Linked DNA regions of Homo sapiens: regions 1, 2, 3, 4 and 5 are each linked to region 6. Evidence: promoter capture Hi-C in human tissues and cell types (Jung and others, 2019). All regions are on one chromosome and are shown on one strand. The core of a region is centred on a gene start or on the middle of the fragment in contact, and the rest is flanking DNA. Distances in the headings are between cores, read along the strand shown.

Region 1 (4,148 bases), core at 402-2,901, 160 kb before region 6:
AATGGAGTGAACCCGGGAGGCAGAGCTTGCAGTGAGCCAAGAATGCCCCACTGCACTCCAGCCTGGGCGACAGAGCTAGACTCCATCTCAAAAAAAAAAAAAAAAAAAAAAAAATCTGTATACAGGAAAAACTATGAATATGAGATTTTAGGGTGGTAAGGAAGGGACCAGAATCTGACACAGGCTAGAAATAGGCTTCAGAGAATCCTTGTTTCCTGTAGGTATGCACTGCTTATTGTAGACAGTGCCACCGCCCTTTACAGAACAGACTACTCGGGTCGAGGTGAGCTTTCAGCCAGGCAGATGCACTTGGCCAGGTTTCTGCGGATGCTTCTGCGACTCGCTGATGAGGTAAGTTGTGGGATAGGGACAGAGAATGCCTACTTTCAGTGGCTGTGAATTCCAGGAGCCTTGCTAGGAGGCTAAGACATCAGTGCCTGAGATCATCAAGCTCTTAGGAAGAAGAGAGACATTAGTTATTCGTTATTTTGTGGGGGAAAGTGGTGGCAGCATTAAGGCTTTTGGAGTGTCTATGGCCACAAAATTGACATTTATCCTTTCCCCATCAGTTTGGTGTAGCAGTGGTAATCACTAATCAGGTGGTAGCTCAAGTGGATGGAGCAGCGATGTTTGCTGCTGATCCCAAAAAACCTATTGGAGGAAATATCATCGCCCATGCATCAACAACCAGGTAAGGTGTTGATGGGATCAGTTCTTCTTTTCGGAATGTCATATTAACTGTGAAGACATGAAGATATAACATTTTCATTTAAGCCCTGTTAAAGCTACTGTTGTATAGACACTTAGGAACTCTTGCTAATCTAATTAACATGCTCTCGTTGGTATAGATGTTTTAGTTCATAAAAGAATTAAAAACCCACAAGTGTGGAAGAATGAATATGAGTAATTGATATGCCTCTCCCCTGTTATTTAAAAAATGTTTGGGCTGGGCACAGTGGCTCACACTGGTAATCCCAACACTTTGGGAGGCCAAGGTGATAGGATGGTTTGAGGCCAGGAATTCGACACTAGTAAGGGCAACAAAGTGAGGCCTCTGTCTCTACAAAAAAAAGTAGCTGGTGTGGTGGCGTGTGCCTGTAGTCTTAGCTACCCAGGAGACTGAGGCAGGAGGATCAGTTGAGCATAGGAATTCGAGGCTGTATTGAGCTATGATCACACATCACTGCACTCCAGCCTGGCAAAAGAGCAGGACACTGTCTTGAAAAAATTTTTTTTCTTTTTTTTTTTTTTTTTTTGAGATGGAGTCTCGCTGTGTCACCCAGGCTGGAGTGCAGTGGCACGATCTCGGCTCACTGCAAGCTCCGCCTCCCGGGTTCACACCATTCTCCTGCCTCAGCCTCCCGAATAGCTGGGACTACAGGCACCCGCCACCACACCTGGCTAATTTTTTTGTATTTTTAGTAGAGATGGGGTTTCACAGTGTTAGCCAGGATGGTCTCGATCTCCTGACCTCGTGATCTGCCCAACTCAGCCTCCCAAAGTGCTGGGATTACAGGCGTGAGCCACCATGCCCGGCCTAAATTTTTCTTTTTTTAATGTTTGTTTCAATATGGACAATCCACTGAGAGGGGCCAGGGCAAAAATGGATTCTGCCAGGTTGGAAATGCACTAAGGAAAACAGTACAGAAACATTCCCAGGGTCCTTCTAGGAAGAATATATGTCTAAAAAATTTTCAGCTCTGTTACAAAGTCAGGAACGGAATTGTTTAATTATAATAAATTGGTGCTTTGGTCTGTGTCTTTGGGTCAGATTGTATCTGAGGAAAGGAAGAGGGGAAACCAGAATCTGCAAAATCTACGACTCTCCCTGTCTTCCTGAAGCTGAAGCTATGTTCGCCATTAATGCAGATGGAGTGGGAGATGCCAAAGACTGAATCATTGGGTTTTTCCTCTGTTAAAAACCTTAAGTGCTGCAGCCTAATGAGAGTGCACTGCTCCCTGGGGTTCTCTACAGGCCTCTTCCTGTTGTGACTGCCAGGATAAAGCTTCCGGGAAAACAGCTATTATATCAGCTTTTCTGATGGTATAAACAGGAGACAGGTCAGTAGTCACAAACTGATCTAAAATGTTTATTCCTTCTGTAGTGTATTAATCTCTGTGTGTTTTCTTTGGTTTTGGAGGAGGGGTATGAAGTATCTTTGACATGGTGCCTTAGGAATGACTTGGGTTTAACAAGCTGTCTACTGGACAATCTTATGTTTCCAAGAGAACTAAAGCTGGAGAGACCTGACCCTTCTCTCACTTCTAAATTAATGGTAAAATAAAATGCCTCAGCTATGTAGCAAAGGGAATGGGTCTGCACAGATTCTTTTTTTCTGTCAGTAAAACTCTCAAGCAGGTTTTTAAGTTGTCTGTCTGAATGATCTTGTGTAAGGTTTTGGTTATGGAGTCTTGTGCCAAACCTACTAGGCCATTAGCCCTTCACCATCTACCTGCTTGGTCTTTCATTGCTAAGACTAACTCAAGATAATCCTAGAGTCTTAAAGCATTTCAGGCCAGTGTGGTGTCTTGCGCCTGTACTCCCAGCACTTTGGGAGGCCGAGGCAGGTGGATCGCTTGAGCCCAGGAGTTTTAAGTCCAGCTTGGCCAAGGTGGTGAAATCCCATCTCTACAAAAAATGCAGAACTTAATCTGGACACACTGTTACACGTGCCTGTAGTCCCAGCTACTCGATAGCCTGAGGTGGGAGAATCACTTAAGCCTGGAAGGTGGAAGTTGCAGTGAGTCGAGATTGCACTGCTGCATTCCAGCCAGGGTGACAGAGTGAGACCATGTTTCAAACAAGAAACATTTCAGAGGGTAAGTAAACAGATTTGATTGTGAGGCTTCTAATAAAGTAGTTATTAGTAGTGAATGTGCTGTTTATAGCAATTATTGCAGTGCAAGCTATTTCAAGACAGGGTTTCCATAATCTTTTTGGCACTGTATAGGGGTGATCAGTTTCTGTTGCTTCAAGATTTGAAACCAGAAAGGAAAGTCCCACTTGCAGATGATTGTGCTTAAAAGCTAATGGAAAAATAAAAGAAAGACATACCATGGGTTGCCTTGTGGCCCCCCTTTCCTTTTTTTTTTTTTTTTGTTTTTGAGATGGAGTTTCATTCTTGTTGCCCAGGCTGGAGTGCAATGGCGTGATCTCGGCTCACCACAACCTCCACCTCCTGGGTTCAAGCAATTCTCCAGCCTCAGCCTCCCAAGTAGCTGAGACAACAGGCGCCCGCCACCACGCCCTGCTGATTTTTGTATTTTTAATCGAGATGGGGTTTCACCATGTTGGCCAGACTGGTCTCGAACGCCTGATCTCAGTGATCTGCCGGCCTTGGCCTCCCAAAGTGTTGGGATTACAGGCACGAACCACCACACATAGCTCTACAATGCTTTGTTTTAAAAGCCGTTCTAGTCTTTTTTGAGACCGTCTCTCACTCTGTTGCCCAGGCTGGAGTGCAGTAGCACAACTCACTACAACCTTCACCTCCCAGGTTCAAGCAATTCTCCTGCCTCAGACTCCCGAGTAGCTGGGATTACAGGCACGTGCCACCACGCCTGACAAATTTTTTTATTTTCGGTAGAGAAGTTTTTCACTATTTTGACCAGGCTGATCTTGAACTCCTGACCTCAGGTAATCCGCCCACCTCGGCCTCCCAAAGTTCTGGGATCACAGGTGTGAGTACTTTGGGAGGTCGAGGTGGGTGGATCACCTGAGGTCAGGAATTCGAGACCAGCCTCAACATGGAGAAACCCCGTCTTTACTAAAAATACAAAATTAGCTGGGCATGGTGGTGCATTCCTGTAATCCCAGCTACTGGAGAGGCTGAGGCAGGAGAATCGCTTGAACCTGGGAGGCGGAGGGTGCGGTGAGCCGAGATTGCGCCATTGCACTCCAGCCTGGGCAACAAGAGCGAAACTCCGTCTCTAAATAAATAAATAAATAAATAAATCAGGGACTGGGCCAGGTGCGGTGGCTCACATCTGTAATCCCAATGCTTAGGGAGGCCAAAGTGGGTAGACCACTTGAATCAGGAGTTTGAGGTCAGCCTGGGCAACATGGTGAAACCCTGTACAAAAAATTTAGAAATTAAAAAATTATTTGGGCATGGTGGGACGCACTTGTAGTCCCTAGCTACTCCGGT
Region 2 (4,643 bases), core at 1,102-3,601, 170 kb after region 6:
GGCCAAGGTGGGATGATTGTGTGAGGCCAGGAGTTAGAGACCAGCCTTGGCAACATAGCAAGACGGCACCATAAAATTAAAAAAAAAAAATTAGCAGGGTGTGGCGCTGCATGCCGGTAGTCCTAGCTACTTGGGAGGCTGATGTGGGAGAATGGCTTGAGGTGGAGTTCAGGGCTGCGGTGAGCTATGATCACGTCTCAGCACTCCACCTTGGGAGACAGAAGGAGAAAATGTCTCTAAGAAAAAAAAAAAAAGCAAAAAAAAAAAAAAAAATCAAAAGAGGTGGCAACACCCACAGGGTATATAATCCTAAATTAGGATATCGAAAGAAAGTTCAACATGCAAATGATAGCTCTGTTTCAGGCATACTTATAAAGTCAAAGGAAAGGCATCAATGACATTAGTAATATCACATTGCCATCTATCAGCAGTGGAAGAGCTACTGAAAACTTAAGTGGTTTGGTGAAAAAATTTTAAGACCTTTTATTTTTCTTTTTTCTTTTTGAGACGGATTCTCACTCTGTCGCCCAGGCTGGAGTGCAGTGGCATGATCTCGGCTCACTGCAAACTCTGCCCCCCGGGTTCAAGCAATTTTCCTGCCTCAGCCTCCCGAGTAGCTGGGATTACAGGCGCCCGCCATAACACCTGGCTGATTTTTGTATTTTTAGTAGAGACAGGGTTTCACCATCTTGGCCAGGCTGGTCTTAAACTCCTGACCTTGTGATCCACCCGCCTCACCTCCTAAAGTGCTGAGATTACAGGCATGAGCCACCATGCCCGGCCAAGATCTTTTATTTTTCAAGATCTGCATTGTTCAATATATACTGAACATCATATGAAAAAAAAAGCAGAAAAAGATGGTGATCACCATTCCACAAGACAAACAATTTAAGAGAAAATAGTCAACAAACTGCATTAGAATGATCTCATCATCATCTCAGCAAGATGAAAATGAGTCAGTCAAATTAAAAGCTATATATCCTAACACTCCTTATACAGTTTCTACATCTACAATTTAGCCACAAAATGGGACCACAGCCATAAAGCTGCCTCAAAGTGGGAAATCCCAGACAATTTCCTATTCCATACAAAGCATAAGCCAGAAAAATACCTGCCTCACATTTCTACCCTATCCCAAGCTCCAACTACAGGAAACCCATCACTATTACAGAGACCCAAAATCACAGAGATCATGTCAACATATTTTGATATATAATCTCCAAAATACTATCTTAACTGTGCAACTTCATTATCATATTCCTTTAGGGACAGAACACATATTTAACTCATTTTCAATTCTTTTAAATTGCAAACAATAAATCCTATTCATTCTTTCTTAAATTCCTCCAACTTTTCATAACTAAGCAGCTGTTTAAATCTAATCAATGTCTTGCCCAATGGATGCCAAATACTTCCCTGATCACCCCCTACTTCAACCTGAATTCTTTTCCTCTGAATTAATTAAATCGATGTTCACATTATCTACCTTAGACATTATAAGCTGGACTAAGACTAGAGATCAGACTTTAGAGTATTAAGAAAATGAACTGGCTGGGTTTGGTGGCTCGTGCCTGTAATCCCAGGACTCTGGGAGGCTGACGCAGAAGGATGACTAGAGGCCAGGAGTTCAAGACCAGCCTGGGCAACATAGTGAGACCTGCCTCTACTAAAAAAGCAAAATGGGCTGGATGGAGTGGCTCACACCTGTAATCTCAGCACTTCAGGAGGCTGACATGGGTGGATCACCTGAGGTCGGGAGTTCGAGACCAGCCTGACCAACATCGTCAGTAGAGAAACCCCGTCTCTACTAAAAATACAAAATTAGCCGGGCATGGTGGCACATGCCTGTAATCCCAGCTACTCGGGAGGCTGAGGCAGAAGAATCACTTCAACCCTGGAGGCAAAGGTTGCGGTGAGCAGAGTTTGCACCATTACACTCTAGCCTGGGTAACAAGAGTGAAACTCTGATTAAAAAAAAAAACAACAGCTGTGTGCGGTGGCTCATGCCTGTAATCCTTGCGTTTTCGGAGGCCCAGGCATGTGGATCACCTGAGGTCAAGAGTTTGAGACCAGCCTGGACAACATGGTGAAACCCTCTCTCTATTAAAAATACAAAACAATTAGCTGGGCATGGTGGCAGACACCTGTAATCCCAGTTACTCAGGAGGCTGAGGCAGGAGGATTGCTTGAACCTGGGAGATGGAGGTTGCAGTGAGCCGAGATTGTGCCACTGCACTCTAGCCTCGGCGACAGAGTGAGACTCCATCTCAAAACAAAAACAAAAACAAGACATGTATTAAAAAAAAGAAATGAATTATTTACAATAGATTTAAATGAAAAGAGAAATGCCGTAAATGATAGGATGTGTACTGATGGTATGATTTGTCAAAAATCTATGTTAAACCAAATAAGGTAGATGTTTTCTACCGTGGCAGTTTGACCACGAGTATCCATTTATCAGGCTAAATGCAATATGCACTCATTGTTCCCAGCAGTAAGTTTTATAGTGATTATATGCAAGTTATTTTGGAACAATGTATATTTTTGTTTTTGTGACGGAAGGAGTCTTGCTCTGTCGCCCTGGATGGAGTGCAGCGGCACATTCTCGGCTTGCTACAACCTCCCTTCACTGCAACCTCCCCTCGCCCCCTCACCCCCCTGGCCCTGCCCCGTTCAAGCGATTCTCCTGCCTCAGCCTCCTGAGCAGCTGGGACTACAGACACATGGCACCATGCCCGGCTAATTTTTTTTTTGTATTTTTAGTAGAGACGGGGTTTCACCATGTTAGCCAGGATGATCTCGACTTCCTGACCTCGTGATCCACCCACCTCAACCTCCCAAAGTGCTGAGATTACAAGTGTGAGCCCCCAAGTCCGGCCAAAATTTAAAACTGTTATGAGTAATTAGTAGGGCAAGAAAAGGAGAGTCAAAAAGTTTATTTTAAAGAGCAATAGATGTTTTGGTTGGACTGATATTTACCTTAAATTTAGGAACAAATCTAGTAAACTCCTGGTGCCAATTGTTAAGTGTAGACGCAGGTGAAATTATTAAGAAAGGTCCCCAAATGTTCTCTCTCTGCAACAGAAAAACCCAGTCAGCCAACTACAGGAAAAGGGAAGGTATTTAATTCAAAATTATAATTAATGACAAGAACAATCTAAGAATAGGAAACAAATAACAAGAGAAACAGTGAGTAAATCCCAAATCTGCACATTCAATAGTAATATCCTATGTTAATAATAAGAACATAAAGACACACCTGAGAAAAAAATGGCAAGCAACTATTCCCTCTTCTGACCTCTTATAGGTCTTATCCACAAAGCATTCATGACACACTGACTTGTATGTATTGTTTTCTACTATACTAGTTATCCGACAATCTTGTAGTTATTTAATAGGTATAGAGCTTTTGCTTTTTTTTCAGTTTTACGCATTTTTAAAATTTAATTCTTATAAAATTCCTATAAAGTAGATAACGTCTCCATAGAAGAGGAAGAGGAAGAGGAAACTAAGCCTCAGAGAGTTAAGTTGAAAAAGAGGCTAAATTGCCCAAGTTTACACTGGTAATAAGAGTAGAGCTGAAATGTTAGGCAAGGTGTTCTGATCTAACTATATGGCCCTTGCCACTACACTGGTGGTAATTAATGCAGAGCGGAAAGGAGTGTCTCAAAATCACATGCTCAAAAATTGTCCTAGCCCTCTTAAAAACCAAAAAGTTATAAAACACTGTCCCCTTATAAAGCTCTGAGGCAAGAACCCAGTCCCACTATCTTGGAATGCTACACAGCTTAACATAGTGCTTTTAAGTGGCTGATTTTCAACAGAAATTACCCTAAATTCTAGAGAAATGAAGATAGAAAGATTGCATCTACCCACCTCAGCCAGATGGGCCAGAAGGGCAATGCTCTGTACTGTTTTACCAAGGCCCATTTCATCAGCAAGAATGCCATTAATACCCTGGGGAAAAAAAATACATGGTCAACACCTCATGCATTTCATCAAATAAAGTTCAACCTGTTACCAAAAAGAACGACCAAGATAACAGGCTTGTTTAAAGAGAAGTGACCAGAGATACTCAGCCTCAGCACTTTTACCCACTGCTATAGTAATTGCTTTTGCCAATGCTACAGCTACAACTATGAACCATGATACATGAGACAGGGCAAGGCCAATCTGTTAGCTAATACAACCCAGACACAAAAGCAATTAGATTTACCAAGTCCATATAAGACAAACCATAAGAAATACACAAATATTCTCCAGTAGGATCTCCAGGTTACAAAAAAACAAAAAGACATCAGCTGGGTGCAGTGGCTCATGCCCGTCCCGGCACTTTGGGAGGCCGAGGCAGGCATATCGCATGAGCCCAGGAGTTTGAGACCAGTCTGGGCAACATGGAGACAGCCCGTTTCTACAAAAAATACAAAAATTAGTCAGGCGTGGTGGCATGTGTCTGCAGTCCCAGCTATTCTGGGGGCTGAGGCAGGAGGGTCACTTGAGCCCAGGAGTTTAAGGCTACAGTGAGCCATAAACGCACCACTCCACTTCAGCCTGGGTGACAGAGTAAGATCCTGTCTCAAAAAGAAAGAGAAACAGAGACATCCTTCTGCCTCTTGTCAAAGGATATAGCTTTTTATTTTTTA
Region 3 (4,408 bases), core at 111-2,610, 180 kb before region 6:
AAACCAGACTTCAGAGATGATGTTCTTAAAACTTCATAAGAGGCCAGCATGGTGTTTCATGCCTGTAATCCCAGTACTTTGGGAAGCCAAAGTGGGAGGATTGCTTGAGACCAGGAATTTGAGACCAGCCTGGGCAACATAGTGAGACCCTGTTTCTGAGATGCCATTTCTAAAAACAAACAAACAAAAACAGACAATTAAAAATATTAGCCCAGCATGATGATGTGTACCTGTGGTCCTAGCTACTCAGGAGGCTGAGGTGGTAGAATCTCTTGAGCCCAAGAGGTCGAGGCTCCAGTGACTGGGATCGTGCCACTGCATGTTTTCTGCTGTATTGCTAGTGCCTAAGGCAGTGTTTGGCTCTCAGTAAACAATAAATGCTTGAATGAGTGGAGATAATAGATGTCCAAAAACATGCCTGATATATAAAATGAATGTCACAGAGGAAATGGGTTAGCTGTTTAAGGAATAGAAAGGGGTAATTTCACCCTAGAGTGATCATGGAATACTTTATGGAGAAAAGATTTTGGACCAGACTTCTGAAGAATGCTAAATTTGGGAAGGAAGGAAATTAAAAGCATTTAACTGTATAGAATGGGATGAACAGAGGATGGGAAGGCATAAGTTAGAAGGAAAAGACAATAAATAAGCAAGGTCATTTAACTGGTTTAGAGTTTGTGTAGAAAAGTTGTAGGAGATGACCCTTAAAAAGATACATCAAACTGGGCATGATAGCTCACACCTGTAATCCCAGCACTTTGGGAGGCCACGGTGGGTGGATCGCTTGAGCTCAGGAGTTTGAGACCAGCCTGGGCAACATGGCAAGACCCTATCTCTACAAATAATATAAAAATTAGCCAGACGTGGGCTGTGCCTGTAGTGGCAGCTACTTGGGAGGTGGAGGCGGGAGAATCGCTTGAGCCCAGGAGGCCAAGGTTGCCATGAGCCAAGATTGTACCACTGCTCTCCAGCCTGGGCAACAGAGCAAGATTTTGTCTCCATCTCAAAAAAAAAAAAAAAATTAAGATCCTATTTCAGAAGGTTAAGAAGTTTAAACTTGATTTTATGAAGAGTAAGCATTAGCTGGTCAGGAAACTAAGATAGTGACAATAAAGAGAAGTAGGGAAAAGATGTTGTAAAGGGCAGCGCTTGATGACTGACAATAAAAAATACACCTCAGCCCAACAATGTATTACAGTAACTTAGTAAACCTAAAAAGTGTTTGAGAGGGGAAGACAGTTTTGTTGGAAACATGAGTACAGGTTTAGAGATGACAGGTTTGAGGTGACAAACCCCGAGTGAAAATTTCTAGCTGTATTGAGAGATGTGGAACTAAGTCACACAGAGAAGTAAAAATGGAATCTGGAAACGAAAGATCCATGAGAAAGGAAGGGAGTAGGATATAGAAGAGAAAGCTAACAAACTTTCATCTTTTCTGCAACTTCAGGCAGTGTAATGGGGAGCCGTTTTTCCTTGTCTAAGTGAGTCTTAATGTTCTCTGGCTTTAAGGATGTGCTGCATAAGTGGCCAGTCCACAAAGTATCCTTGAACCTGGCCCATGCCCATGGACCAACTCTTCTGTTATAATCTTTTGAAGCTTTATTATAATTTTAGTTATTTTGAAAAACATGGCATTATTTTAATCTAGATAGATTATACCCACTTCTGCCATGGGCACAACTTACTGTTGGAGATCAAAACAACTGAAACAAAATCTGCCTTATATCAGTGTTACAGAAGAGGCTTCCTAGTGTTTTTCTATCCTCGGGACTCAACTCTGTTGAGTTTTTTTTTCTTTTCTTTTCTTTTTTTTTTTTTTTTTTTGAGAAAGAGTCTTGCTCTGTTGCCCAGGCTGTAGTGCAGTGGTGTGATCTTGGCTTGCTGCAACCTCTGCCTCCCAGGTTCAAGCCATTCTCCTGCCTCAGCCTCCCGAATAGCTGGGATTACAGGCATGACGGCCACCACGTCCAGCTAATTTTTGTATTTTTAGTAGAGACGAGGTTTCACCATGTTGGCCAGGCTGGTCTCAAACTCCTGACCTCAAGTTAATCTGCCCGCCTTGGCCTCCCAAAGTGCTGGGATTACAGGAGTGAGCCACCGTGCCTGGCCCAAGTTTATTTAAATTTAACATCAAGTAACCTAGCTTGATAGCCTCCCATTTTTCTTATTTTCCTTTTTTTTTTTTTTTTTATTTGAGACGGAGTCTCTGTCGCCTAGGCAGGAGTGCAGTGGCGCAATCTTGGCTCACTGCAACCTCCATCTCCTGGGTTCAAGCAGTTCTCCAGCCTCAGCCTCCCAAACTGGGATTACAGGTGCCTGCCACCCAACACAGCTAATTTTTTGTATTTTTAGTAGAGACAAGGTCTTGCTGTGTTGGCCAGGCTGGTCTTGAACTCCTGACCTCAGGTGATCCACCCGCCTCAGCCTCCCAAAGTGCTGGGATTACAGGTGTGAGCCACCATGCCCGGCTTTTTGTTGTCATTTTAATTGTTTATTGCTCCACTGATATTTTCTTTGCAGACCAAAATGTTACAATTTTTTTTTTTTTTTTTGAGGCGGAGTCTCATTCTGTCGCCTGGGCTGGAGTGCAGTGGTGCCATCTCTGCTCACTGCAAGCTCCGCCTCCTGGGTTCACGCCATTTTCCTGCCTCAGCCTCCCGAGTAGCTGGGACTACAGGCGCCCGCCACCACGCCTGGCTAATTTTTTGTATTTTTAGTAGAGACAGGTTTTCACCGTATTAGCCAGGATGGTCTCGATCTCCTGACCTTGTGATCCGCCCACCTTGGTCTCTCAAAATGCTGGGATTACAGGTGTGAGCCACCGTGCCTGGCTGGCTGCCATATGTCTTATGAGACAGCCAAGCTAGCATGTCAGTATCGAGTAGACCTAATCCATTGTTAACTCTCCTCAGAAATAAATTCTTTTTTTTTTTTTTTTTTGAGATTGGGTCTCACTATGTTGCACCGGCTGTTCTTGAACTCCTGAGCGCAAGCAATCCTCCAACCTCAGCCTCCCACATAGCTGGGATTACAGGTGAATGCCTCTGCACCCAGATCCTCATAATCATTAGGAAGAAAGAGCTGAGGGGGAGGGGTGGAGGAGGATGCTTAGGAGACCTTTTATGATAATAAGGGAGGAAACATTGAGAAGAGGAAGAGTAAGTTATAGAAGCTATAGCTATTGCGTGAGCTCCATTAGAAATTTGATAGCTAAAGGGAATTAGGGCTGTTTAAAATGTCACTCTTACATCCGTCATTTGACATGATATGTGACCTTTTTAAATAGAAATGTTTTCCCATGTTTTGACAGGGACTTATGTAGAATAAGTATTTAGACTACAGTACATAATATCTATAGTTGCCATGGCAACTCAGCATAGCATGCTGACACTCCAAAGTTGTACAAATAGAATCCTAATCTGAGAATGTTTAAGTAGTCAGATAATGTCTGTCAACAATAAACTAAAGCAAAATTCTCAAGTAAATATAGCCTGTTAAAATAACATTTACAGATGGCTGAACAACTATATAGATCGTTGACTTTTTTTAAAGAAAAAGAATGCTAATTAATTAATAATAGAAAAGATTACATTTCATCAGCCTAAGAGCTGGAACCAGGGATATAGAGAGGATGTTAGACTATTACTTAAATCTAAATATTATCTACTCTCATTTGTTTTCTCAATTTAATGAAGTAAAACCCCATTATATGTTAGGTCTCTCTCTAATAGAAAAGTCATAAAGTTGAGAGCTACAGTTAGGTTACAAAATGAATTAGCCCATGCTTGTTCAAAGTACTGCAGTAGTTTTAAAATTCTGGGCCGGGTATGGTGGCTCATGCTTGTAATTCCAGCACTTTGGGAGGCTGAGGCCGGAGGATTGCTTGAACCCAGGAGTTCCAGACAAGACTGGGGAATATGGCGAGATCCCATTTCAATTAAAAAATAAAAACAGTTCTGAGAAGACAATTTAACATAAGTACCAGTTTTAAAAGCACATGCCCATGCGGGCATGGTGGCTCACGCCTGTAATCCCAGCACTTTGGGAGGCTGAGGTGGATGGATCACAAGGTCAGGAGTTCAAGAACAGCCTGGCCAAGATGGTGCAACCCTGTCTCTACTAAAAATACAAAAATTAGCCAGGCGTGGGGGTGGGCGCCTGTAATCCCAGCTACTTGGGAGGCTGAGGCAGAGAATTGCTTGAACCTGGGAAGTGGAGGTTGCAGTGAGCTGAGATCGTGCCACTGCACTCCAGCCTGGGCAACAGAGTAAGATTCTGTCTCAAAAAAAAACCAAAAACCAAAAAACCACAAAACAAAAAAATCACATACCCTTTGACAGAAAATTTGTCTTACAGAACATTTCACATATATGCAAAGATAAATGTACAAATAATTTATACCAAAGCA
Region 4 (4,737 bases), core at 369-2,868, 250 kb before region 6:
AGTTAAGTTTAAGAGAAGGTATGGTGACTGGATGTACACCTAAGCCAGATTTATGTTTCTCTCCACTCAAACATCTCAGTGGAGTAAAGAATAACAAGGCAGCATTGCTGCAAACATGTCTCGCCTCCCACCATAGGGCGGTTTTTCTCCTATCTCAGAATCGAACAAATGTACAATCGAGTTTTATACAAAGACATTCAGTTCCCATGGGCAGGCAGGAGACAGTGGCCTTCCTCTATCTCAACTGCAAGAGGCTTTCGTCTTTTACTAATCCACCTCAGCACAGACCATTTACGGGTGTCGGGCTGGGGGACAGTCAGGTCTTTCTCATCCCACGAGGCCATATTTCAGACTATCACATGGGGAGAAACCTTGGACAATACCCCGCTTTCAAGGGCAGAGGTCCCTGCGGCTTTCCGCAGTGCATTGTGCCCCTGGTTTATTGAGACTAGAGAATAGCGATGACTTTTACCAAGTATACTGCTTGTAAACATTTTGTCAACAAGGCACGTCCTGCACAGCCCTAGATCCCTTAAACTTTGATTTCATACAACACATGTTTTTGTGAGCTTCAGGTTGGGTCAAAGTGGCTGGGGCAAAGTGGTTGGGGCAAAGCTACAAATTAACAACATCTCAGCAAAACAGTTGTTCAAAGTACAGGTCTTTTTCCAAATGGAGTCTCTTACGTCTTTCCTTTCTACATAGACACAGTAACAGTCTGATCTCTTTCTTTTCCCTACAGTGCTAATTAACTTTTCCGTATTTTAGATTAAAGCTTTCTGCATCGAACCAAGATAAGCTGTTGGTTGATATAAATAAGAACCTGTGGGAAAAAATGAGACACTGCTCTGACAAAGAGGTACTTTTGTCTCATTTTCTGAATGAGAATCAGTGAAGACATTCTGAACGATGTTTATTGTGAAATGAGTAACTGTTACTTGGTCATAGTGATGAGTTATTTAACTTATTTTTTAAGTGTAATGTGGTACCAAGGTCTTATTTAATTACACACAATTGTTAATATATAATCTTTTCAAACCTGAGATGATCAATTTAATATATGAAATATAGTTGAAGTTTATTTAGAGTTCCCTCCTTGCTATTTGCCTTTCACTTAGATTTAGACGAAGAAAAGATTTACTTTAATTGATTAAATAGCAAGCAACCCATTTTATATGTGCCCTAATATATTAAAAAGTTTCATTAACTAAGAGCCTGTCATTTTCTAATTTATAATATGAATAAGTGAATTAAAGGCAGGAATCAAAACTGAAATCTTTTTTCTGGTCTTAGACAATTACATGGAATTAAATTTGCAAATGACAAATATCCTGCCTTAGGATAGGCAAAGCCTAGCCTTCCTAGACCATTTACCTCTTCTGACTCGTTTGTTTTAGTACAGTGTTCTCTATAACTTTCCCTTCCAGCTGAAGGCCTTTGGAATTTATCTTAACAAAATAAAGTCATGTTTTACCAAGATGACTAAAGTCTTCACTCACCAAGGAAAAGTGGCTCTGTATGGCAAGCTGGTGCAGTCAGCTCAGGTAATTTGAGACAGTTAATATCATAGAAAGAGAGAGATATTAAAATTACTTTCTAATGGTTATAGAATATGAAGAATCTTCCTTAGAAGACATGTGAATAAGACTTGGGCAAAAACTTAACAATTAAGAGGTAAGGTTCAATTTGTCAAAAGTGGCAAATCCTGACATCTTGAGTAATACTGGAATATAATTACTAATGTGGGCCTATGTCTCATCTCAAATACTATTATCCATCATACATACTGAAATAAAATACATAGGATTCTGGTCTCCCATTGCTAAGGACTATACCATAGTATTATCTTCTTCATAGTCCATACTAAGCTGTATATGTATGCACATGTGTTTAAAGTAGCATTTCCCAAAATGATTAGCTTTTTTAAAAGGCTCTGCATAAAAAAACTTTCCATTGGCAAGTAAGTATGGGAAATGTTGCAAGCAATATGCCCTTTCAGAGAAACATAATTTTTTAAAGTCTAAGCATAAATGCTGTAATTCTTTTTGACCACTGTTTCCTATGTTTAGTTTATCATAGAAATGTTTTTAAGTAATAAATATTAATATATTGTATTCCATGGAACACCTATAGAAATGCTAAAATAAAGTACCAGAATTAGTTTTATGTCAATATGCTTTTTAAATTATTTCATTTTCTTTTAATAAAATATTTTATTAAATTTATAAAATAAACATTTTATTTTCCAGAGTTCTTTTGGCTAAAACTTATTTTAATAAAATTTACTTTTATTTTTTAAGTTCCAACCTAAAGCTTTGACCTTCATTTTAAGATTTGCCTGTTTGTAGGCTGGGTGCGGTGGCTCACGCCTGTAATCCCAGCACTTTGGGAGGCCAAGGCGGGCGGATCACGAGGTCGGGAGATCGAGACCATCCTGGCTAACACGGTGAAACCCCATCTCTACTAAAAATACAAAAAATTAGCCAGGCATGGTGGCAGGCACCTGTAGTCCCAGCTAATCAGGAGGCTGAGGCAGGAGAATGGCATGAACCCGGGAGGCGGAGCTTGCAATGAGCCCAGATGGCGCCACTGCACTCCAGCCTGGGTAACAGAATGAGACTCCGCCTCAAAAAAAAAAAAAAAAAAAAAAGATTTGCCTGTTTGTGATCATGATAGAGCGATTATGTGAGCAGTTTGAACCATTTATAATATTTTCTTTAGAGGTTTAACTTGACAGTCTATAATCTTTTGTATTTAGAATGAGAGGGAGAAACTTCAAATAAAGATAGATGAGATGGATAAAATACTTAAGAAGATCGATAACTGCCTCACTGAGATGGAAACAGGTAAAGTATTTTAAATACTTTTCCAAAAGAAAATTTAATTTTATCTAAATGCTCTCCTACAGTAGAGAATGTTGGTACCACGATATTGAAGACTTGTATTAGCAACTTGAGATATTAAATTAGAGTAAATTGGCTCACGCCTGTAATCCCAGCACTTTGGGAGGCCAAGCCGGGCGGATCACCTGAGGTCAGGAGTTTGAGACCAGCCTGGCCAACATGGTGAAACCCCATCTCTACTAAAAATTTTAAAATTAGCTGGGCGTGGTGACGGGCGCCTGTACTCCAGCTACTCGGGAGGCTGAGGCAGGAGAATAGTTTGAACCCAGGATGTGCAGGTTGCAGTGAGCCAAGATTGCGCCACTGCACTCCAGCCTGGGTGGCAGAGCGAGACTCCATCTCAAAAAAAATAATAATAAAATAAATAAATAAATAAATTAGAGCAAATTAAAGTTCCTTTACTATAGTCATCCATAATACAATCAAGAGCTGCTCAAGATAACCCAGACTGTAATTTTGTGTTTTTTAATAGATGAATTTATCTCAGTTTGAAAACCGTCTATCCTTTCAGTTTGGTCTTTCATAATCCCAACTTTTTAGAGTTACTCTCCTGAAACTCCTTTCTCAAAGATCACATAATTCTGCATAGTCATCAAATTTTGTTCTTCTCAGTCCTTAGCCATTTTGACCTCTTTCAGCATTTGACACTGATGACTGTTCTTTTCTTCCTGAAATGTTCATCTCCCTTAATCTCTGTGATAATGCACTATCTTGACCCAGTTGTTTTCTCCTGGCTGCTCAATCCAGCTTCTCTGTTGGCCTCTCTTTCTCTAACTGATCCCTTGTGGGGATTTAGATTTTATCATCTGTTCTTTTCTATATTCTCTCCCCTAGTGCTTTCGTGTGCCTTAATAATTATGTGACTGATTCCCAAATTTAAATTCCTCAAGCATTTTTTGAGCATATACTGCATGCCAGATACTGTGCTTAGTATCAGAAAATAAATAAAAATATTTAAGACACAGATTTTGCCCTAAAGGTAGCTTATAATCATTTCAGGTGAGGGCATCTTTAGCCTCTCTTTCTTGAATTCTAGACTCAATTTCTAGCTTCCTTCTGAACCTGTATGCAAAAAATATCCTTAAACACCTTAAACTGTGAATACAGCCTGGGCAACAGAGTGAGGCACTATCTCTACAAAAAACAAGAGATTAGCTCAGCGTGATGGCACATACCTGTAGTCCTAGCTACTTGGGAGGCTGAGGCAGGAAGATCTCTTGAGCCCAGGAGGTCAAGACTACAGTGAGGCAAGATCACACCACTGCACTCCAGCCTGTGCAACAGAGCAAACTAAATAAATAAATTTAAATATATTCTCCGAGCTCAAAAATAAAATTCAAAAACTTGTTCTCTCTTATGATGTTTCTCATCTTTATGTATAGCAGTCACAATTCTTATACATTGTAAAAGCTCAATACTTTCATTGTCTTTGAGGCTCTCTTAACAAGTCCTGTCATCGGCAGCTTCAGCATCTCATGTGTTTATTTTCCTTTCCTATTAAGGCTCACCTTAATTCTGAACTGTGCTATTTCAGTCTTCTAACTAATCTTTATACATTCTTACCATTATTCCACCTTCTTCCATTCCAACCTGCACATTGCTGCCAGATTAATAATTATGAAAGACAGTTTTCATTAATGTTACTCCTCTGAAAAACTTCTGTCTTTCCATTTATTATAAAGTCCAAACTTAACTTTCTTTTTTTTTTTTTTTTTTGAGATGGTATTTCACTGTCGTTACCCAGGCTGGAGTCAATGGCACAATCTCTGCTCACTGCAACCTCCGCCTCCCAGATTCAAGCGATTTTCCTGCCTGAGCTTCCCGAGTAGCTGGG
Region 5 (4,282 bases), core at 236-2,735, 220 kb after region 6:
AGGCAAAGAAAGATACATATGTTTCTTTTTTAGGTAAATTTAGGCAAAAAATATATTAATAGTTACCTAAGACTGGAGGGAGGGGGAATGGGGAGTGACTGCTAAATGGCTTCTAGAGATTCTCTTTTAGGGTGATGAATTAAATAGTGGTTGATGGCTACAGAATTTAATAAATATAGTTTCAGAAAATTACTTAATTATACGCTTTAGAAAGCGGAATTTTTTGGTATTTGAATCATATTTCAATAAAGCTATTATTTAATTTAAGTTGCCACTGAAAAGCCACAATAATTTTGTTGTGGAGGAAATAATGAAAGTCACTGACTGGAAAAGTAACCTGTGACGTTAGCCAGGTCAACCTCCAAATTCCTTCCCCCATTTCTAACAAGTACATCAAACTAGAGACAGTGTGTGAATCAAAGAATTCCAGGCACAGTTGGCTGTTAACTAGAATAGTAAGTGGCTGCCTAGGTTCTGTCATTCCTAAACTGTAGGGGGCTTCTAGCCTCGGAGATTACGGAAGTAGTACTTTCCATTAGCGAGCTCAAGAAGGAATGTCAAAATAGGATGACACTTTCCTAGTCGCTATGTAAAAACCTAAAAAACCAGAAGAGGTGTCATCTAGACACTCCCAAGTCTATGCAGGTGTCAGCCTGCCCCCACCCAACACCAGCCAGCAGCGTGCACCATTCAACCGTATCTCAACTTGCCCCTTACAAAATGACACACTAACAAGCCCTTAGATCTCATTTGTTTAAAATGACAGATACACAACCTTCACGGGGTTCCCACTCAAGGCCTTCCAGCCTCCGCCCTGCCCCTGCCCACCCCCAAACCTACACACGTGTTAGCCCGACACCGCCCCACCGGGTCCCACGTGCACCTGGTCTAACACACTCCCCACGTGTGGGCGCCCCACGGGCTTCCTCAGGTGGCTGAGGTCACCGCATGACCCCGGGTCTCCAGAGATATGAAACGGGAAGGACAAGGCCCTAGTCCCTGAGGTCCCAACCCTGCGGGGAGTGTCCACACCCATCCTCCATACTAACCCCAACAAATCCAAGGGCCGGGGGCGACGGCCCCTTTAAGACGCGGCCCAGTTGTCGCCCGCAGAGAGGGGCGCAACAAGACCTACACAACCCCCACTCCGTTCGCCCGCCCACGTCTAGTTGCCTCACCTCGGGCCGCCTGGCCCCGCCGCCGCGACGGCGGCGGAGGGGGGGCGGGGTGCGGGCGGGGTCCGGAGGGGGGGGTCGCCCCGCCGACGGTGGAGCCGCGGTTCGCTCTCTGAGGCCGTGGGACGGTGACTGCGTTGGGCGTGGACGCTCCTAGCTCGCTCCCTCCGCGGCTCCTGGGACCCCAAGATGGCGGCGGCGCTGAGGCGGCTGCGGGCGCTGGGCCGGCGGCGGCGGCGGCCACTTTCACTCACTGAGAGGAGCGGAGCAGGGACACGGGGAGCCATGGCGGGGGGGAGGAGAGGCGCCATAGCCAGGCCAGAACAATCGAGCCGCTACACGGGTGGCTTACCCCCACCCCGCCCACACTCACTGCTCGTCGCCTGCCCGTGGCCACCCGTAGTGCCGCTGCCGTCGGCCTCGCGCAGCTCGCACCCCGCCGCTGCCACCTGACGCCCCGTGCGAACCGGGGTTCGAGGGGAGACCCTGATCCATGCCATCTGAGTACAGATTAGTCGGGACTGGGACTGGCGAAGATTGCCGAAAGGCGGCGGGGAGGAGGAGGAGGATGTCATCGCTACAGTGAGCAAGCAGATCTCGCAGGAGAAAATGTCGCGAGAGCTTTCCAGGCCCGCAACCGCCGATGCAAGGTTACTTTTCCCGGAAGTAACGTCAATCGAAACCGCCCGGGATCCTGGGATATTTGTTCCCGCAGGCTAGAGGTGGGAAGGTGCAGCCAAGTTGATAAGATCTCTTTAGGGGAAGGAGAGGCTCGCAGCTGGTATTTTGTTACTAGTTTCTGACCCCTTTGGATGGGGTTGTAGATTGTCGGGGAAGTGCCTGGTGTGTAGTTCGACTACTATACAGTAATTAGTTTGGGGCTCCCATTTAGACTCTGGGAGCAAGAACGCTATAGGTTGGGTAGGACAGCATAGTTAGATAAGATGTCTACGTGAAGGTTGTGGGATACAAGGACTTGGGAACACGCAGACCTGTTATCGGAAATGCCAGCCTGTTCTCACATCCACACAGTGTGCCTCTGAAAAGCGAATAATTGCTTTTACCTGTGCCAATTCTACAATTTGAGTCCACTGCCACCCACATTTACTAAACTTGGGGTCTCGCTATGTTGCCCAGTCTACTGGGCTGGTTCCCAGTCTCCTGGCCTGAAGTGATCCTCCTGCCTGGAAGGATCACCTCAGGCCAAACGTCTCAGAGCAGTCCATTAGACTGGTCAACATAGCGAGACCCCGTCTCTACAAAAAAGACAACATAATAAATGTAATCGACCCAACTACCAGGATGTGTGGTGAGAATTGCCTAGGGTAAGGCCTAGGTGTAGATAAGAATTAGAACTTACTGAAAGTTAAATATGCTGTTAATTCAGTTCCTTTGGGTCTCATTCTTTAATCCATTTTAACCTGGCCCTTAGCATTTAACTAAAAAGTACTTTATTAAGGTCATCAAGTAGCCTTCTTGTGCTGAGTTAACTGACCTTTAAAAAGTTAAATTTGTGTCAGGGTGCAGTGCCACACGCCTGTAATCCCAGCACTTTGGGAGGTCAGGTGGTCGAATCACCTGAGGTCAGGAGCTCGAGACCAGCCTGACCAATATGGTGAAACCCCATCTCTACTAAAAATACAAAAATTAGCCGGGCGTGGTGGCGGGTGCCTGTAGTCCAGCTACTTGGGAGCCTGAGGCAGGAGAATCGCTTGAACCTGGGAGGCGGAGGTTACAGTGAACCGAGATCGCACCATTGCACTCCAGCCTGGGCAGCAAGAGCGAAATTCCGTATCAAAAAGAAAAAAAAAAAAATCCATCTCAAAAAGAAAAAAAAAAAGTTACATTTGCAAGCCAAGCGCGGTAGCTCACGCGTGTAATCCCGGCACTTTGGGAGGCTGAGGCGGGTGGATCACTTGAGGTCGGGATTTTGAGACCAGCCTGGCCAACATGGTGAAACCTCGTCTCTACTGAAAAAAAAAAAAAAAAAAAAAAAAAAAGATTAGCCGGGCGTGGTGGCGGGCACCTGTAATCCCAGCTACTCGGGAGTCTGAGGCAGGAGAATCTCTTGAACCTGGGAGGCAGGGGTTGCAGTGAGCCGAGACTGAGCCACTGTACTCCAACCTGGGACAGAGCGAGACTCTGCCTCAAGAAAAAAAACCAAGAGTTAAATTTGCTTGAATGCATGGCCAGGCACGGTGGCTCACGCCTGTAATCCCAGTACTTTGGGAGGCCTAGGCAGGCAGATCACGAGGTCAGGAGTTTGAGACCAGCCTGACCAACCTTGAAACCCTGTCTCTACTAAAAATACAAAAATTAGCTGGGCATGATGGCGCGCGCCTGTAATCCCCCCAGCTACTCAGGAGGCTGAGGCAGGGGAATCGCTTGAACCCCGGAGGCGGAGGTTGCCGTGAGCGGAGATCTAGCCATTGCACTCCAGCCTGGGCAACAGAGTAAGACTGTCTTTAAAAAAAAAAAATGCTTAAAGGCAAAAGTATGATATATAATTGGCCCTTATATCTGCGGGTTCAATATCCGTGGATTCAACCAACAGCAAATCAAAAATACTCAAAAAATAGGCTGGGCTCAGTGGCATACACCTGTAATCCCCAGCACTTTGAGAGGCTGAGCCAAAGTGTCACTTGAAGCCAGGAGTTACAGATTGGCTTGGGCAACAAAAGAAGACCCCATTTCTACCAAATGTTCAAAAAATAAATAATAACTCATTTCAAAATACACTATAATTATTTGCATAACATTTGCATTGTATTGGGTATTATAAGTAATCTAGAGATGATTTAAAGTATATGGGAGGATGTGTAGGTGATATGCAAATGCTACACAATTTTGTCACACACGCCTGTAATCCCAGCACTTTGGGAGGCCGAGGCTGGCAGATCACGAGGTCAGGAGATCGAGACCATCCTGTCTATCGCGGTGAAACCCCGTCTCTACTAAAAAAATACAAAAAAATTAGCCAGGCGTGGTGGCAGGCGCCTGTAGTCCCAGCTACTCAGGAGGCTGAGGCAGGAGAATGGCGTGAACCTGGGAGGCAGAGCTTGCAGTGAGCCGAGATCACGCCACTGAACTCCAGCCTGGGCGACAGA
Region 6 (4,595 bases), core at 195-2,694:
CTTCCCTCCTGGGACCTGGCAACCTCAGGTGGGAAGGCTGCATTGAGGCTGCAGGCTTGGTCAAGAGAAGCAGGACCCTGGTGCGAAGGGAAATGAGCCTGGACAGCATACTTGTCACCTGCCCCAGGACTAGTGCCCCTCCAAGCCAGAGAGCCCAGATAGCCCTCAGTGGGGCTGGTGAGAGTCACAGTTCTCCGCACGTGGCCAGGAAGTTGAGCAAGAGTAACCCAACCACATAAGGTATGGTGCAAACCTGGAAACTTCTGAGAGCAAAGGGATGCTCTTAGTTGTTAGGCGGGGGCCGCCCAGCAGAGCCAGGACGGTGGCGACCCTAGTCCAGAGCCTTCCACTTTAGCAAGGTAGAATCCAAGGGCCCCAGAAGGGAACAGACTCCATCTGGGTCGCCTAAGCAGGTGAGAGAGGAAAACCCAACCACAGTCGCGCCCCAGCCCTCGCAGGTCCCTGGCTGAGGACTCCCCTCTCCACCTCAGGCTGGGCGGCCCCCGCCTTCACGCTTGCTCCCACTTGTCCCTCGTTCTTGCTAGGCTTGGCAGGTATTTGTTCCCTGCTCCTTCACGCTCTCAGTGCCGTGGCCACGTCGCTGGGTACGCCCCACCAGGCAAGAGACATTTTCCGTCTTGTTCTCTGCCACGTCCCCAGAGCCTGGAACAGTGCTTGGCACAGAGTGGACGCTCATTCGTGGAGTAAGTGCCTGATGGATAATCCATCACTTGCTTTTCTAGTATGAATGGTCTATTTACGGGTCCAGCGCCCCTGCTGGCTTACGACCTTTTCCAGGGCGGGGAGGGGCTGTCCTCATCTCTGTGACCCCAGCGCCCAGCCCAAGGCCTGGCACAGAGTAAGTGCTCAACCACATTTTGGTGAATGAGTGAATGGAAGCGGCCCAGCAACCCTGAGCCAAGGAGCCACTGTGGGGCAGGTCAGGGCGGTTCCTGGCACAGGGCTTCCCACTAGCCTGGCCACCAGCTCTGCGGTCTCCTGGAAGCTGGGGGGCCTTTGGGTAAGGGAGAAGAGTGGCCAGGAGTTGTCTGCGTGTGCCCTGTGACGGTGGGATAGAGACAGCGATTGGATTGAGGAACGGGAGGTTCCCCGAGGCTGTTTAGAGAGGCGGGAGCGGGAGCTGGTCAGGGAGGCTGGACAGACCACCCGAGGGAGCGGAGCTTGGGCACGAAAGCCAAAACTGGGCGGCGCGGGGCGGGTGGGGAAGGCCGGCTGAGAAAGCCGGGATTGCCTCCTGGTGTCAAAGCTCGGAACTGCAGCAGGATCCTGGGGGCGGGGCTTGTGTTCAGCAGCACTCGCCACGCGCCCAGCCCTCAGCCCTCGTCTCGCCTTCTGCTGGCTGGCCCGGCGACGTTGTGCGCCAGCGTACGCGGGGCTCTGAGAACCCGGAAGTTACGTTTTAGGCCCGCGTCACGGGGGCGGGAGTCAGCTGAGCTGCCGGGGCGAGGTTGGGATCACCTGGCACCGGCTGAAGGGAGCCTGTGATTTTTTTGTAGCGGGGGCGGGGAGTAAGGTGCAAGACTGCGCCAGATTCAAGGACGAGGGCTGCCCGATTATCTCGCTGCATAAGGCAAGAGCAAGAGGATCCTCAGGATTTTAAAGAGGAGGCGACGGCTGCAGGTTCCCAGGATCTGTCAGAGGCTGGGGAGTTACAGCTTCCATTCTGGGGCGACGGGGACCCCGGGGGGGTAGCCCTTTTGTAATCCCCAGGCCCCGGACAAAGAGCCCAGAGGCCGGGCACCATGGCGTCCATCCTGGATGAGTACGAGAACTCGCTGTCCCGCTCGGCCGTCTTGCAGCCCGGCTGCCCTAGCGTGGGCATCCCCCACTCGGGTAAGGAAGAGGAGGGTGCCGCTGCCCCTTTCGGCTCTCCTAGCATTTGCGTGGGAGCAGCGAGGAGGGCAGCTCCAAGAGCTCGGGGTCATCCCCTGGGCCGTGCCTTCCGGGTCTAGGCCCCTGATTCTCCTCAGGCTCTCTTGGCCCCCAGCTGGTGGATAGTCGAAGTTTGAAAGAGCAACGGGAGCTGCCGCGTGATCTAGGCTCTACCGCTAGGGTCCTTTTGAGAGGGAATTGGGGCCCAGATAAGGAATTACTCACCTACAGGGCGCAGTTGGGCTGTTGGGAGAACTTAGAATGGGCTCCCGGCTTCTGCTGATGCTTTTCCCACCAGGCCCCTTCTGGAGGTGGGAGGGAAGGAATGGACAAAGAAAGTGGTGAAGGCGGAGTATTGCAGAGGAAGAAGGGAGGGTCCCAGAGGGAATTTTGTCGCTGAACGGGGAAAATGGAGATGAAATCTTTTTGGCCTTGGCTATAGCTGGGTGCAGCCTGGAGTTTGGGGACGTTTTTGTAGAAAGTAGTGAGTCTCCAGGAGAATGAGGGCATAGGGAGCCCTGGGGAACTGTTCCAGTGAGTGGAGTTAACGAATTGGAGCTGCTTTCACTCTAGTCTTTACCTTCATTCAATGCTCAAAATATCCCAGCACTTGCCAACTCTACACTGAGGCTCATTACCGCATGGGCAGGGAGGGGGGCAGAGAATGGGGCTATACTACTTCAGTTAAGCTGGGATTGCTGGGCCAAAGACCTGATAAGGGAGAATACCCAGACCACCAGTCCCGTCCCACCTCCACGCAGCCCCATTACCAGTGGGAGCAGGTATATCATGCTGTGACAGCATCTTAAGGGTTCAAAGAATCAACCCCTCACTGCTGTCAGAGTGTGGAAAGAGCTCCAGACCTCTATTGTAAAGGTGACCAGCAAACGACTTGATATCAAACTATTTGTTAACCAAGGTCCTGGGGATAGGAATATGTCAGGAAAGTGGCGAGGAGCACTGTGGTGTTTTTTCTGCCTCTCCTTGCCCTTCACCTGTCTCTTCCACAGCTAATCTTCTTGTCATTCCTTACCTGTAGGGTATGTGAATGCCCAGCTGGAGAAGGAAGTGCCCATCTTCACAAAGCAGCGCATTGACTTCACCCCTTCCGAGCGCATTACCAGTCTTGTCGTCTCCAGCAATCAGCTGTGCATGAGCCTGGGCAAGGATACACTGCTCCGGTAATCAAGAGCTCACAGAGCTTAGGAGTAGGGACTAGAGAGGTGTTTGGGGACTGTTAACTCACTGGGCCTTTCTTCTATTCCAGGCAAGTAAAGCAGTGAATTTGGAGTTTTCAGGAAATATCCTATCCCTTTCCAAAGAGAACCAATACAGGGTAGTGGTTAAGTATCTGGCCTGGCAGGGCATGGTGGCTCACACCTATCATCTCAGCACTTCGGGAGGCCAAGACAAGAGGATCACATGAAATCAGCAGTTTGAGACCAGCCTGGGCAATATAGTGAGACCCCCGTCTCTACCAAAACAAATTTTTAAAAATTAGCTAGGTGTGATGGTGCAGTCCCAACTACTGGGGAGGCCGAGGCAAGAGGATCACTTGAGCCCAGGAGTTCAAGGCTGCAGTGAGCTGTGTTTGCACCACTGTACTCCTGTCTCTTTAAAAAAAAAAAAAAGTCAGGTGCAGTGGCTCACACCTGTTATCCCAGCACTTTGGGAGGCTGAGGAGGGTGGATCACCTGAGGTCAGGAGTTCGACACCAGCCTGGCCAACATGGTGAAACGCTGTTTCTACTAAAAATACAAAAGTTAGCCGGGCGTGGTGGCAGGCGCCTGTAATCTCAGCTACTGGGGAGGCTGAGGCAGGAGAATTGCTGGAACCTGGGAGCCGGAAGTTGCAGTGAGCTGAGATTGCACCATTGAACTCCAGCCCAGGCGACAACAGTGAGACTCCATCTCAAAAAAAAAAAAAGGAAAAGGAAAAAAAAAAAAACTGTTTAGGAGTGTAGACTTAAGAGTATTAGAGTATTGATTAGAGCATTCTTGTGGTGGGAAAAACTGGATCCATGCTGAATGCTCATCAATAGGAAAATGGTGATTAAACTGCAATTCAGCCACAAAATAGAATATAATGCAGTTGTTTAAAAAAATGAATTATCCTGGCTGGGCGAGGTGGCTCACGCCTGTAATCCCAGCACTTTGGGAGGCTGAGGCAGGCAGATCACCTGAGGTCGGGAGTTCAAGACCAGCCTGGCCAACATGGAGAAACCCCTTCTCTACTAAAAATATAAAATTAGCAGGGTGTGGTGGCAGGTGCCTGTAATCCCAGCTATTTGGGAGGCTGAGGCAGGAGAATGGCTTGAACCCGGGAGGCAGAGGTTGCAGTGAGCCGAGATCATGCTCACTGCACTCCAGCCTGGATGACAAGAGCAAGACTTTGTCTGAAAAAAAAAAAAAGAGTTATCCTGGAAAGCTGGGTTTGGGGGTAAAAACAAAAAAAGTTAGAGCTATATCGATTGACTAGTGGAATGTTCATGAAATATCATTAATTTAGAAAATTTACAAATTAAGACACATACACATATGTGCAATATGAAGGCATTTTTATAATGACAGCAACAAAACCACCCTATTTATGTTATGAGTATGAAAAAAGATGTTAACATGAATTTTCTCAGTTGGGAATAACAGGAGTTTGAGAAGAAAATTAAGTCATTCTTTATACATCTTTGCATCGATTCTTTAGTT

Evidence for each region. The method cuts DNA at HindIII sites, captures the fragments that hold promoters and counts their contacts. A contact is called where the count stands out against the background at its distance.
Region 1: a contact is called between a fragment that was not itself captured here and the fragment with the promoter of VPS18 in region 6, in 1 of the 25 tissues and cell types used here (bladder).
Region 2: a fragment that was not itself captured here is called in contact with the fragment with the promoter of VPS18 in region 6 in 1 of the 25 tissues and cell types used here (mesenchymal stem cells).
Region 3: a contact is called between a fragment that was not itself captured here and the fragment with the promoter of VPS18 in region 6, in 3 of the 25 tissues and cell types used here (adrenal gland, heart left ventricle and thymus).
Region 4: a fragment that was not itself captured here is called in contact with the fragment with the promoter of VPS18 in region 6 in 1 of the 25 tissues and cell types used here (pancreas).
Region 5: the fragment with the promoter of INO80 here is called in contact with the fragment with the promoter of VPS18 in region 6 in 2 of the 25 tissues and cell types used here (lymphoblastoid cells and mesenchymal stem cells).

The regions. Positions count from the first base shown.
Region 1 is chr15:40,729,284-40,733,431 of GRCh38, forward strand. It overlaps RAD51 (RAD51 recombinase), which reads left to right. Exons shown (of 10, transcript NM_002875.5): 8 at 222-351; 9 at 570-691; 10 at 1,772-3,057. The coding sequence ends at 1,895. Among named protein-coding and RNA genes, the nearest start is that of RMDN3, 24 kb to the right of the region's middle. The HindIII fragment of the contact is 9,331 bases long and covers 1-4,148 here.
Region 2 is chr15:41,066,591-41,071,233 of GRCh38, forward strand. INO80 (INO80 complex ATPase subunit) reads right to left here. Exons shown (of 36, transcript NM_017553.3): 13 at 3,877-3,957; 14 at 2,980-3,075. Among named protein-coding and RNA genes, the nearest start is that of INO80, 47 kb to the right of the region's middle. The HindIII fragment of the contact is 5,849 bases long and covers 1-4,643 here.
Region 3 is chr15:40,711,073-40,715,480 of GRCh38, forward strand. All of the region lies in intron 5 of RAD51 (RAD51 recombinase), which reads left to right. Among named protein-coding and RNA genes, the nearest start is that of RAD51, 18 kb to the left of the region's middle. The HindIII fragment of the contact is 9,054 bases long and covers 1-4,408 here.
Region 4 is chr15:40,644,229-40,648,965 of GRCh38, forward strand. It overlaps KNL1 (kinetochore scaffold 1), which reads left to right. Exons shown (of 26, transcript NM_144508.5): 15 at 769-859; 16 at 1,428-1,544; 17 at 2,759-2,846. Among named protein-coding and RNA genes, the nearest start is that of RAD51-AS1, 49 kb to the right of the region's middle. The HindIII fragment of the contact is 5,654 bases long and covers 1-4,445 here.
Region 5 is chr15:41,114,795-41,119,076 of GRCh38, forward strand. INO80 (INO80 complex ATPase subunit) reads right to left here and starts at 1,486. Exons shown (of 36, transcript NM_017553.3): 1 at 1,179-1,486. RefSeq lists enhancers at 348-1,128, 754-803, 884-933, 984-1,063, 1,129-1,908 and 2 more and a silencer at 1,164-1,433. The HindIII fragment of the contact is 26,384 bases long and covers 1-4,282 here.
Region 6 is chr15:40,893,006-40,897,600 of GRCh38, forward strand. VPS18 (VPS18 core subunit of CORVET and HOPS complexes) reads left to right here and starts at 1,445. Exons shown (of 5, transcript NM_020857.3): 1 at 1,445-1,854; 2 at 2,933-3,074. The coding sequence starts at 1,764. RefSeq lists a silencer at 1,161-1,330 and an enhancer at 2,171-2,260. The HindIII fragment of the contact is 19,251 bases long and covers 1-4,595 here.